Linked DNA regions of Homo sapiens: region 1 is linked to region 2. Evidence: promoter capture Hi-C in 16 types of primary human blood cells and fetal thymus (Javierre and others, 2016). All regions are on one chromosome and are shown on one strand. The core of a region is centred on a gene start or on the middle of the fragment in contact, and the rest is flanking DNA. Distances in the headings are between cores, read along the strand shown.

The links. Contacts are between HindIII fragments. The CHiCAGO score rates a contact against its expected background, and 5 or more counts as called.
Region 1: a contact is called between the fragment with the promoter of LKAAEAR1 here and the fragment with the promoter of ABHD16B in region 2, in 2 of 17 cell types (endothelial precursors and M1 macrophages). The highest score is 5.4, in endothelial precursors.

Annotation. Positions count from the first base shown.
Region 1 is chr20:64,081,890-64,087,765 of GRCh38, reverse strand. LKAAEAR1 (LKAAEAR motif containing 1) reads left to right here and starts at 3,368. Exons shown (of 3, transcript NM_001353425.2): 1 at 3,368-3,948; 2 at 4,061-4,183; 3 at 4,272-4,390. The coding sequence starts at 3,547. The coding sequence ends at 4,331. The region is part of intron 1 of OPRL1 (opioid related nociceptin receptor 1); the gene reads right to left. RefSeq lists silencers at 644-844, 3,956-4,035, 4,216-4,275. The HindIII fragment of the contact is 5,360 bases long and covers 1,829-5,876 here.
Region 2 is chr20:63,857,885-63,863,291 of GRCh38, reverse strand. ABHD16B (abhydrolase domain containing 16B) reads right to left here and starts at 1,794. Exons shown (of 1, transcript NM_080622.4): 1 at 304-1,794. The coding sequence starts at 1,751. The coding sequence ends at 342. It overlaps ABHD16B-AS1 (ABHD16B antisense RNA 1), which reads left to right. Exons shown (of 2, transcript NR_165314.1): 2 at 1-2,077. RefSeq lists a silencer at 4,587-4,746. The HindIII fragment of the contact is 10,144 bases long and covers 1-5,407 here.

The DNA of each region.
Region 1 (5,876 bases), core at 2,119-4,618, 220 kb before region 2:
TAGCAAGAGGCACATGTTATATGAGAGAGCAAGACAACCTCAAACACACATGTTCTGGGCAGGCGAAACAATATGCAAGGATACTAGGGATAGCCCAAGACACGAACGATGACACGCGAATGACAGCACAGAGCTTGTGTGCGAGGATACTAGGGATAGCCCAAGACACGAACGATGACACGCGAATGACAGCACAGAGCTTGTGTGCGAGGATACTAGGGATAGCCCAAGACACGAACGATGACACGCGAATGACAGCACAGAGCTTGTGTGCGAGGATACTAGGGATAGCCCAAGACACGAACGATGACACGCGAATGACAGCACAGAGCTTGTGTGCGAGGATACTAGGGATAGCCCAAGACACGAACGATGACACGCGAATGACAGCACAGAGCTTGTGTGCGAGGATACTAGGGATAGCCCAAGACACGAACGATGACACGCGAATGACAGCACAGAGCTTGTGTGCGAGGATACTAGGGATAGCCCAAGACACGAACGATGACACGCGAATGACAGCACAGAGCTTGTGTGCGAGGATACTAGGGATAGCCCAAGACACGAACGATGACACGCGAATGACAGCACAGAGCTTGTGTGCGAGGATACTAGGGATAGCCCAAGACACGAACGATGACACGCGAATGACAGCACAGAGCTTGTGTCCACAGATTAAAGCCTGACACAGGCTGCTCTTGGAGCTCCTGGGTATTTGGGCAGGCCTGGGTTCCGGGGTGAGATTCACACCCACTCAGCAGGCAAATACACACACCTCACTCTCATCCAGTGACTCAGAATCAGCAAACGCCAGACGGCAGCTGGAACACTGTCTTTTGTCCTCCCCACTCCCACCCCCAGGGCAGGCACAGTCTACCCTCCTCCTTCCACAGGCTCACCACCCTGGGCTGGCCAAGAACAGGAATCAAGGCAGAGGGTCTGGCAGCCCCTCACAGAGCAGCCATCCCCCAGGGAAGCCAGTCACCAGGCCGCACATTTGTGCTATTAAAAAAGTGAAAGAATTTTTAACAATTCTGAGTTTCATCAAAATAAATTACTTTGTCCTTGTGATTTTAACTTTACAAAATCTATATACAATGACAAAAAAAATTGAGTTGTAGCTTCTCAATATCATGTTAAATTTTGTAGTCATTAATAAAGCTTACTAATTTGACTTGAAGTTTCATCGTCAGGCCTTGGCAGCAATAAACATGCTTTTAGATCTCAGCATTTCCGTTAGCCCTTGAAAAACACGTGAATCCTGGGGACAGAAACAGATGGGAGGTGTCGGCCTGCTGGGTCCCTCACAGTTGCTGGACCCCAAACACACAGAGAACACCTCCCTTCTTGCAGAACTGCAAACGTGTGGAGAAACAGTAGGGGTGAGGAATGTGAGCCAGGTAGGCCCTGGGAGTACCTGCTGCAAATTATGGACTAGGGGGTGTCAAGGTTTTCCAGTCCTATAAAAAGAGGTTACAAGCCCCTTCTTGCAGAACAGAAGAATATTCCCCTACTCCCTGCGTGACTCCCCCACAAACGCCAAGAGCCAGAAAGTGCCCCACCCATGTGTCCCCCTGGCCTGGACCCAGGGAAGCTGAGAGGATGGCCCAGGTCCCTGTCTCAAAGGACTCACCCCTATGGGAGCACAAAGGCTGCCCAGAGAAAGCGGCTGCTGGGTGAGCATCCCTAAGCAGTCACTGCTGCTTCTGGAGACCAGGGACCTTCCTCAAGCCAAGCTGGTGCTGCAGCCCAGGCAGGACCCCAAAGGCACCTGCAGGAGGGGAGGGAACAGCACCAGGAAGGGCCTTCCTGGGGAGCAGCAAAAGCTTGAGGGCTGGAAGGATGGGCCTAGCTGTGGGATGGGGTGCCGGCTCTGGGACATAGGGCTGAATGTCAAAATTTACCCTCTTACTGAGAGGCCAGGGCAGTCTCCCAAAAACAATGGGAACACCCAACAGCCTCCTGCCAAAAGGCCAGAAGCTCAGCTAAGACCCTGCTCCTCAGCTGGGACAGCCCTACTCCCAAACTCACAGGTTCCAAACTCCCAGCAAGGTGTCCCAGCGGCAGGTCTGTGAATATAGAGAGAGTACAGACATCTCGTGGAAGTAATAGATACGTAACAGATTGGACTTTTTGCACTAATTTTTGCCTAATTTAAACTGTGGAATAAGCACGTGAATTAGGAAATTCTAGAACACACTTATGAGTGCCTGAAGAAATTATAAAATGATTAAGTAGTTAATTGAGAATTAGTTACAAAACAAAGGAATGCACAAATAGATTTCCAAAATCTAGTATCTAGGACCCAAGATCCCAAGACACAGTGTTCAGCAAAACCCAGCTCTAGTCCTGGGGACACCAGGACCCCTGAGACCCCAAACTTGCCCTAGAAGAGGTGAGGGGTCCTGAGTTCTGCCCCATTATCCCTTTCTGTGAACACCAGTGGCTGGGGCCAGAGCCCCCTGGCCATCAGAAGGGAATGGGCCTTAACCACAAAGGTCTCCTCATAGCCGAGGGCCCCACCCACAAAACTAACCCCAAAGACCCCTCAAGCCAGGAACCTGGGCCCACAACCCCTAGGATGGCGCGTCTGCGGCCGCCTGGAAAGGACGCTCACCCAAGCTGGAGAAGCCGGCTCTATGCCTCTATGCCCCAATGACCCCTATGAGGGGCGCGTCCACGCCCAGACTCTAACCCAGGGCCCTCCGGAGGGGACCCTGCCCCCCGCCACGACCCGCCCCACCTGGTCGAGGGAGGGGCAGGACTCCCGGTTGCTGGGCAACCGCGTCAACAAGCCCAAAGAGTCTGGGCTACGGCGGAGGTTCTTCCGACCAGAGAAGGCAGCAAGCAGGGGGTGTAGGGACCAAGAGGTGGGGGCTGGGCCTCGGCTGCAGGAGCTAAGGAGGGGCGGGGGCGTTAGCCGCCGCTGGGGCTGGCCGTGGCTCTGCCTCTGGCACAGCGAGCCCAGCCCTGGCTGGACAAGGTGGCAGCTGTAGGCTGGGGCCGGGAAGGGAGGAGCCAGCTGGGCTTTTGGACCCTCCCTCCTCTGTCACCTGCCCTCTAGGCTCTGCTCCCCACAACCATCTAGGCCTCGAAGGGCAAGAGCGAGCTGTCTGGTGGGAGACCCTGACTGTCGGGGACCGCAGACATAGGGGCACAACGAAGGTCCCCCAGGCGTCACCTAGAGCTCTCCATGTGGCAGGGCCTGAGATCAACCCAGTGGGGTCTCAGCATTTTCTCAATTCAAACAGAACAGTCCATCGGGTAGGAAAGATATTTCCTACAACTGAGTTGATCAGAAAGTCCTAGTTGACTGCAGGACTGAGCAGGATCAGCCGATGGCAGAGCTGCTGGGGACGTGCGCTTGGGAGAGGGAGAGCGCCTGGGCAAAGCTCAGAGGCTGGGGGTGCGGAACTCAAAACCGACTGCGGAGAGCCCAGCGGGCGGGAGCTGGGGCGCACGTTGGGGCCCTGCCGAGGGGCGGGCAGGGCCCGGTGCCAGCCCCGGCACCGACGGGACGCCCTCCTCCCTCCGCAGGGCGGGAGGATGCCGCCGCCAGCGAAGGAGGGCGGGCGCAAGGGCCCGCGGGAGCGAAGCGGGAAGAGCGCGCCAGGCACGGCGCAGGGTGAGGAGCGTGCCAAGGGGGCGCCCGCGACAGAGCCCCCCAAGCCGGGCTGGGCCCTGACGCCGCAGGGACTGGCGGCCATGCTCCCTGCGCAGCGCCACCGCCATCTGCTCTTCGGCGACCTGCTGGAGGACGTGGGCGCGGCGGCCTCCACCTTCCCGTGCGGGTCGGTGGAACCGGGGTACCGCATGCCCGACCCGCGCCCGTGGACGCAGTCGCTCGAGCTGCCCGCCGAGCGCCAGAACCGGCTCCTCGGCGTCCTCAAGGCAGCGGAGGCCCGCGGGCGAGTCCGCGCCCTGCGGCTGCGCTACACCCGCATGCGGGTGAGGCGAGGGGGTCGGAGGGCAGAGGGGGCGCACCGGGAGCGTTGAGCGGAGCCGGCCGGGGCGGGGCGGGGCGGGGCTCGGCGCGCGCTCAGCTACCCGGGCCCCGCAGGCCGAGGAGATCGCGCTGCTCATCCAGCGGCAGAAGTCCGCGCGCGCCGCCATCCGGCTGGAGCTGTTCCTGCCGCCGCAGCTGAAGCCCGCGCGGATCCCGGACCCCCTGGACCGCCAAGAGGTGCAGACAAGCCCCGGTAGGGGCGGGGAAAGGGGAGGGGCCCTGCCCGCCTCCGCACACGCCGGACCCCAGCCTCTCTCCCCGGCAGCGGAGGCGCGTGGAGACCATCCTGGAGGAGAACGTGGATGGCACCATCTTCCCGCGGTGACGGCGACTGAGAGTGTGCGACGCGCCCCAGCCTCCCACATAAAGTTATAATTCTCCGAAGGCTCGCTGGTCTTTTTGCTGCCACTCCCCAGGACCCCGAGGGAAGCGGGGAGTATGGACGCTGCCTCTCCCATGCACCTCACAGACATCAGGGTACAGAGAGTGGGGCCTCTCCCAAAAAAGTGGGGAGACGCAAGTGGGTGGGTGTGAAAGTAACAGGTCAGGGACACGCCTACCCCTAATCCCGATCTGCCCCCCACTGGCAACCTGGCGTTCTGTGGGTCTATGGGAGGCCCCCAGTCTTGGGGAGGACGGAGAAAGAGCCTGTTTCAGCAGAAGTCACCCCCAGATGTAAGGGTAGCCTCAGGCTGCAGTGGTCTCGAGTGCGAGTCATCCCACCAGGGGGCCAGGGAGAGGGCAGTGCTGTGGGCAGCGGAAGTGACCTAAGCTGGCCTTTGAAGAAGCAGCAGCTGTGCCCAAGAGGACCAAGAGACTGGGCAAGGGGAACCCCTGCGGCCCCCAGACAAAAATCCCACCCTCTGGCCTTCCTTTCCATCCTGAATAGCCTCCTGTGACCCCTTTAATGCCCCATGCCACACCCCCACACCCACCCCCCCACACACACACACCCCACACACACTCACGCATGCAGTACAAAAGGAAGCCACCCCTGTCCCATTCTGACAAACAGGCCCACGACCTACAAAATCCCTGGACTCTGAAAAGCCCCGAGGTTTCTGGGCAGACCTTACTTTTCTCCCCGACGTGAGCTCTTTGCAGACGCTGGGGCTTCCCTAGGCCCCCGCTTCCTTTTCCTCCCTCCCAGCCCCCTGCCCAGCAGGCTGCACAGAAGCGGGACCGCAGGAACTCAGACAAACCGCTCCTCCTGCTAGGGGGCTCCAGCTGACTGGAAGGAGGGGCAGAGGTCAGAACTGGGGTCCAGAAGGGATCCTGCTCCATGGCAGCCAGTGTTTCTCCCCAGCCCCGGCCAGGGGGTGGAGCCCTGCGCACTCGCCCCTCAGCCAGCCCTTCTCCCCGTGCACCGAGCACTTTACTCTTTCTGGGCTGTTGCTGCCCTTGGCCTTGACCCAAGCCCAGACTGTATACAGAGCTCAGAAGTCAGCTGACAAGGAGGGGACAGAGAGATGGCAGGAGGGGTTTCAGGAAGGGAAGGGTAGAGAGGAAGGAGGCCAGGGAGAAGGGGCTTGAGCAGGGGCAGACAGACAGGGAAGGGAGGCAGTCTGTCCAGGAGTGGCAGCCACTCACACCCTGATGTGCTTGTGACATGTGATGACAGCCAGCCCTGGTGTCGTCTGGCCAAACTCCCTGCAGCCTGGACCCCAGGATTCTGTGTCTTGGGGATTGACTGAGTGCCTAGAATGAGTTCATCTACTGGGAGAATCACATATTATTTCACCATTTCTCTGAGACTCCATTTCTTTATCTTTAAAATAAGGGTCTTGGTGCAGTACCCCACAGCAGCAAGTGCTCCAAAGGGGATGGGTCACTCTGCATCAGACAGGCAAGAGGGAAGAGGGGCAGAGAC
Region 2 (5,407 bases), core at 545-3,044:
ACCCATCACACAGTATTGCCATAAACCGGGTCAGGTTAACCTTTCATTCCCTTAGGAGCTGGGTGGGGGCAGCCAAAAGTATTTGTAGGAGGAAGAGAGAAAGGAGGGGACAGAGCTAGGAAGAATGGGAGGACGGTCAGAACGCCCCTGTGAAGGAAGGAGAGCACCAAGTCCCCGTGTTCTGCCTACCCTCCCCCAGACAGCAGATCAGGAGCACCCCGCGCGCCCCCCCCCGCCCCGCCCCGCGTCGGCGCCGGCCCCCTGCAATGGTTGGCGGTATGGGGAGGTGAACCAAGAAGGCCAGGAGTTCAAGTGCGTGATCCCCCACTGGGGCATATAGGTTACAGCCGCCAGGGCAACTGAAACTCCTCAGGCTCCAGAGGGCTGAAGTGAGTCGCCTCCACGTTCTTGAGGTGCTTCCGAGCCAGGAACAGTGCGAGGCGCCGGCGCCGCCGCGAGCTCAGGCCCTGGCCCACCAGCCATGGGAAGGCGGGTCCGTGTGGCCCCAGGGCCTCCTCGCCCTCCAGCTCCTCTTCGCAGCGTGCACGGTAGGAGCGCAGCAGCGCCAGGCACCAGTCCTCGTCCACGCGGTAGCGTGCATAGAAGGCGGCCTCCTGCGCCAAGCTGCCAGCGCGCAGCCAGCGGGTGACGACGGCGCGGCCCTCTCGCGCCATCACGACGGGGTAGCGGTGCTCCAGCAGGCGCAGCAGCAGCTCATTGCCCCGGTTGCCCTCCACGTCACCAGGTGACAGGGGGCGCAGGCGGCCCGAAGTGCTGACCACGTCATCCTGCGTGCGTCGGAGCAGCAGCACCGGCCCCGGGTAGCAGCACAGCTGCTCGGCCACGTTGAGGTTGAAGTGCTCGCGCACGGTGCGCACCACCAGCCCCTTCCAACTGTGGGGCATGACCTTCAGCGCCAGCGGCACAAGGTCGTCGAAGGTGGCGTCCAGCACCAGTGCACCCAGCTCCGGGTAGGTCATGGTGGCCCAGGTGGCCGTGAAGCCGCCAACAGACCAGCCGTAGACCACCAGGTGCGCGGGCGGGAAGTGCAGGCGGTGCAGTGCGTACTCGACCACCACGTCCATGGCGTTGGCGTCGTGCTGAGGGAAGGGCACGCCAGTGCTGCTGCCGAAGCCGGGGTGGTTCCAGCCCAGCACGGAGTAGCCGGCCTCGAGCGGTGCAGACAGACAGCCCATCTCGTAGAAGCCCGCGTTGCCTTCGCAGCAGATGACGAGGCGCGGCCCGTGCACGTGGCTGCCCGGGTGCTGGCGGCGGTCCATGAACATAGTGTCGATCTCGTTGCCGTCACAGGCCACCAGCTTGGCGCGCCGGCCGTGGTAGCGCTCCACGAGGCGCTCTTGGCCCTGCTGCAGCAGCGGCAGCAGCGCGCGCGTCATCAGGGACACGGAGCCGGGGTACACGAGCCAGCGGCCCAGCGAGTGGGCCAGCGCGTAGCTAGCGAGCTGGCCGGGCAGCTCGCGGAGCTGCTGCAAGAGGCACTGCGCCTGGCTGCGCGCCCCACGTGGAGGCCGCCCCAGCGCATCCCCGCCCAGCGTCTCGTCCCGCAGCAACCACACGCCCGCCGCGGCTGCCGCGCAGGTCAGCGCCCGGTGGCTGCTGCTCCGGCCCACGGCGCGCACGTCATCCCAGCGGAAGGCCACGGGCCAGCCGCGGAATGGGTAGGTGTAGCTGGCGGTCAGGTAGATCTTGAACACGCGCACCAGCGCCTTCACGAAGCAGATGACGCACATGAGCGGTGGCCCTAACGCCCAGCCGCTGGGCCGGGATCGCCGCGAGAGGCACAGGGCAGTCTTAGGGGATACCGGCTCCCGGACAAGCCCTGATGGCCTTTGTGACCTGGCCTTCCAGGGCGGAGGGAAGGCTGCATCCTGTTGCTAGGTGATGGGTGCACAAAGGGTTCCCAGAGATGATGAACCCAAGGTTCTGCCCGTCCCCCGCCTTCGCCAAGACCCCACCAGCTAAACGCTCCCAGGCCCAGCTTTCCCACCCATGATTTGAGCAGCTACTGTCTCCCTCTTTCTTCCTTATTTATTTATTAAATTGAGATGGGGTCTCACTATGCTGCCTAGGCTGGTCTTGAACCCCTGGGCTCAAGCGATCCTCCCGCCTCCACCTCCCACAGTGTTGGGATTACAGGTGTGAGTCCCTGCACCCCGCCTCCACCTCCCACAGTGTTGGGATTACAGGTGTGAGTCCCTGCACCCCGCCTCCCTCTTCCTTAAATTTAAGATGGACAGCCCCACGGGCCAAAAAGGGACAGCAAGGCCTCCTCCGCCTGTACCAGGCTTGCTGTGGGTCCTGCAAGTTTCCCTTCAGGGTCTGCTGGTTTAAACCTCATCTCCCCAGGACGGCCGGGGTCAGAGACAGGGCTGCTGCTGCACCAAAAAGGCGGTATTTGCTCTCGGCCCGGCCCCTCCTCTCCACACCTTCCTTCTTCGGTGCTGACCAGAAACAAGCCCTCTCCTTTTCTGGATCCTCTTTTCACTGGCTGCCAGCAACAGCAGTGACCTTCTGGGGCGGGTCCTGCCTGGCTGGGGTTCCTCTTTCTCGCTCCTGGGTCGAGCCCCCACTCCCAGGCTGCGCCTCCCTCTTTTCTGGAGAGGTATCTTTTCTCCTGCCCTGGAAAGGGCCAGCCCACCTGAGGGCAGGGTCGGAAGCCGCCTGCCAGGAGGAGCCCCAGGGAAGAGGGCAGCTCCAGGTACTCAACAGCTCCCCAGACCAGAAACAAACATGCTACAATCAGGGAGTTTGGCAAATCCAGCCAGAGCCTCTGAGCCCAGGTGCCAGGCCCGCCTGGGACCCCAGCCTTCTGGGGAAGGGGTAGTTTCAGGCTGAAGCACCCCCTCTCTGCTCTCCTGCTCAGCGTCTGGGTTAGAGGCACTGCCTGACCCTAACAGGCCCCGCCCCTAGTTGGGGGAGTCAGCTGCTGCCTTTAGGGGTTGGGGGACAGAAGACAGGGACCAATTAACAAAGGGAGCGATTTGGGGGGCTATTACCCCCATTCTAGGTTGCCAGATAAAATACAGAATAATATGCCAGTTAAATTGGAATTACAAATAAACAAATACTTTTTGGGTATAAGTATGTTCCAACTTCTGCTTGAGACATTATTTTAAAATTGTTTATCTGAAATTCAAATTTAACTGGATATCCTGTTTTTTCTGTTTGTTTGTTTGTTTGTTTTTGAGACGGAGTCTCACTCTTGTCGCCCAGGCTGGAGTGCAATGGTGCAATCTCAGCTCACTGCAACCTCTGCCTCCTGGGTGTTCAAGCAATTCTCCTGCCTCAGCCTCCCAAGTAGCTGGGATTACAGGTGCCCGCCACCATGCCCGGCTAACTTTTTGTACTTTTAGTAGAGATGGGGTTTCACCACGTTGGTCAGGCTGGCCTCTAACTCCTGACCTCAGGTGGATCACCCGCTTTGGCCTCCCAAAGTGCTGGGATTACAGGCAGGAGCCACCGCACCCGGTCTAGATATACCCTGTTTTTAAATTTGTTTTTGTTTTGCTAAATCTGGCAGTCCTACCCCCAGGCACACACACAGTTGAGATCCAGATTTTCCTGGTTATCCAGCTTTGATCTCCGATTGGCTACTGTGCTCATTGGTCAAAGCCTGAGGACAAAGAGGGTGTCTCAGGGTCCACTGGTGCACCTGTCACACCATCCTTTCCACTGGGTCCTGGGCAGCAACAGGAGCCCTGCCCCAGGAGGAAACACACAGGGTACTGCCCCTGCAGCCAAGGGATGGGCAAGGCTTCCCCTGGGGATTGGTGGTTCTGGTCCTGCTCAAGTGTCCACCCCTGACCCTGTGGGGAAAGGAGCCTGGTGGATAGGGGTGGGGATGGAAACTTCTGCAGAGGGTGGGAGATGATTCCTTTCCCAGGAGCCTCTTTCATAAACTCAGCGGCTGCCTACTCTAGGCAGGTTGGGGCTGTGGGCCCAAAGGCTACCGGCCCATTTTGTGTGAGACCACAGGAGTGAACCCAGCAGCAGAGCCGAAGTTCTGACAGGAGGTGTCCCTGCCACCTCAGTTCAGATCCTGGCAGCGGCAGGAGTCCTGGAGGACTGTCCACGCAGGATGTTGGACGCACTAAACCTTATTTTGATTCCCCTGAGCAGATCCTGCTTGGAGGAGCCTCGTCCTCCTGGGGGCAGTCTCCCAGCTTGATCTGCTCTGGGACTTGTTTGGAAATGCAGGCTTTTCTTTAGCCAGGCCCACCTGCCCTTAGCTTCCCCCACAACAACCCACCCACACACACACACAGAGCAGGAAGTTCTTGAGAGGAGGAGGGGAGAGCCTGGGACCGGATTCTGAGGGGCAGAGGTCAGCGGGCTGGAGCCGCTGGCCCCCAGGGGTTCCATGCCTCATCCTGTGTCTGGCCCAGCCCCTGATCCCACCAGCCCACGGGAGTCCAAGTGCCCCAGAACCCCCGGCTCTGTTGAGACAGGAAAGCATGTGACAGGAAGGGAGCTGTCCCCTCTCCAGAAGAGCCCCCAGACGACCAGCTGCAGCAGCCATGACCTCTTGTGCCTCCACCGCCATCAGCTCAGGGAAGTGTCCACAAGGTGGAGGTGGGGGCTGTGTCCCTGCTGATCTGTTTGTGGAGGCAACCCCCACCTCCACCCCGGTGCCCTCCACGCCGACATCTGAGCGTGCACCCACCCCCACAGGGCCTGCCAGTCTCTGAGCCCTCCACCCCTTGGTTCCCACCCTCCTGCATTGGGCCCTCCTGCACTGGGGCAGGGCTCTCCCCCTGGCCAGTCCTGCCAACCCTCCTGCACTGAACCCTCCCTGGAGGCCCTTGATTTATGCCAGTGGAGCCTGCAGAGCCAACCTTGGAGAAGGAAGGAGAGGAGAGAGAGAAAACCAGTCCCAGAGGCCGGAGGGGCAGGAACCAGGATCAGAGCCCCTGGCAGAGGGCATCCGTCAGGGAGTGAGCCGACCCCAGCAGCCCTGGACTCAGGGAGCAGTGCCCAGGCCTTGGGAAAACTGAGGCTACCCTGGTGGGTGCGGGAGCTGAGTCTGCACAAACGCCTCTGCTCAGGAAATGGGGTGCAGGGAAGGTGGGGGTGGCTTGGAGCCCAAGGACAGGAGGGGATGCTTCCTGGAGGACGCAGGGTCAGGAGAAGGGGCGGAAATGGCCAAGACAGCTGCTGAACATCTGGAGTCACAGAGAATTAATTGCTCAGAGCCCTCAAGGACGGTGGGGTTGGTGGGGGAGTGGCGTACACTGGAGCCTTCTCCGTCCTGGCTCCCTGCAGGGCCTGTGCTCTGGGCCTCTCTCCTGCCCGGGATGAAGGACACCAGTGAGCAGCCCTCCCCAGAGTACCCCCCAACACCCATCCCAGTACACACCCCTGGGGGCCATGCTATGTATATGTGGAG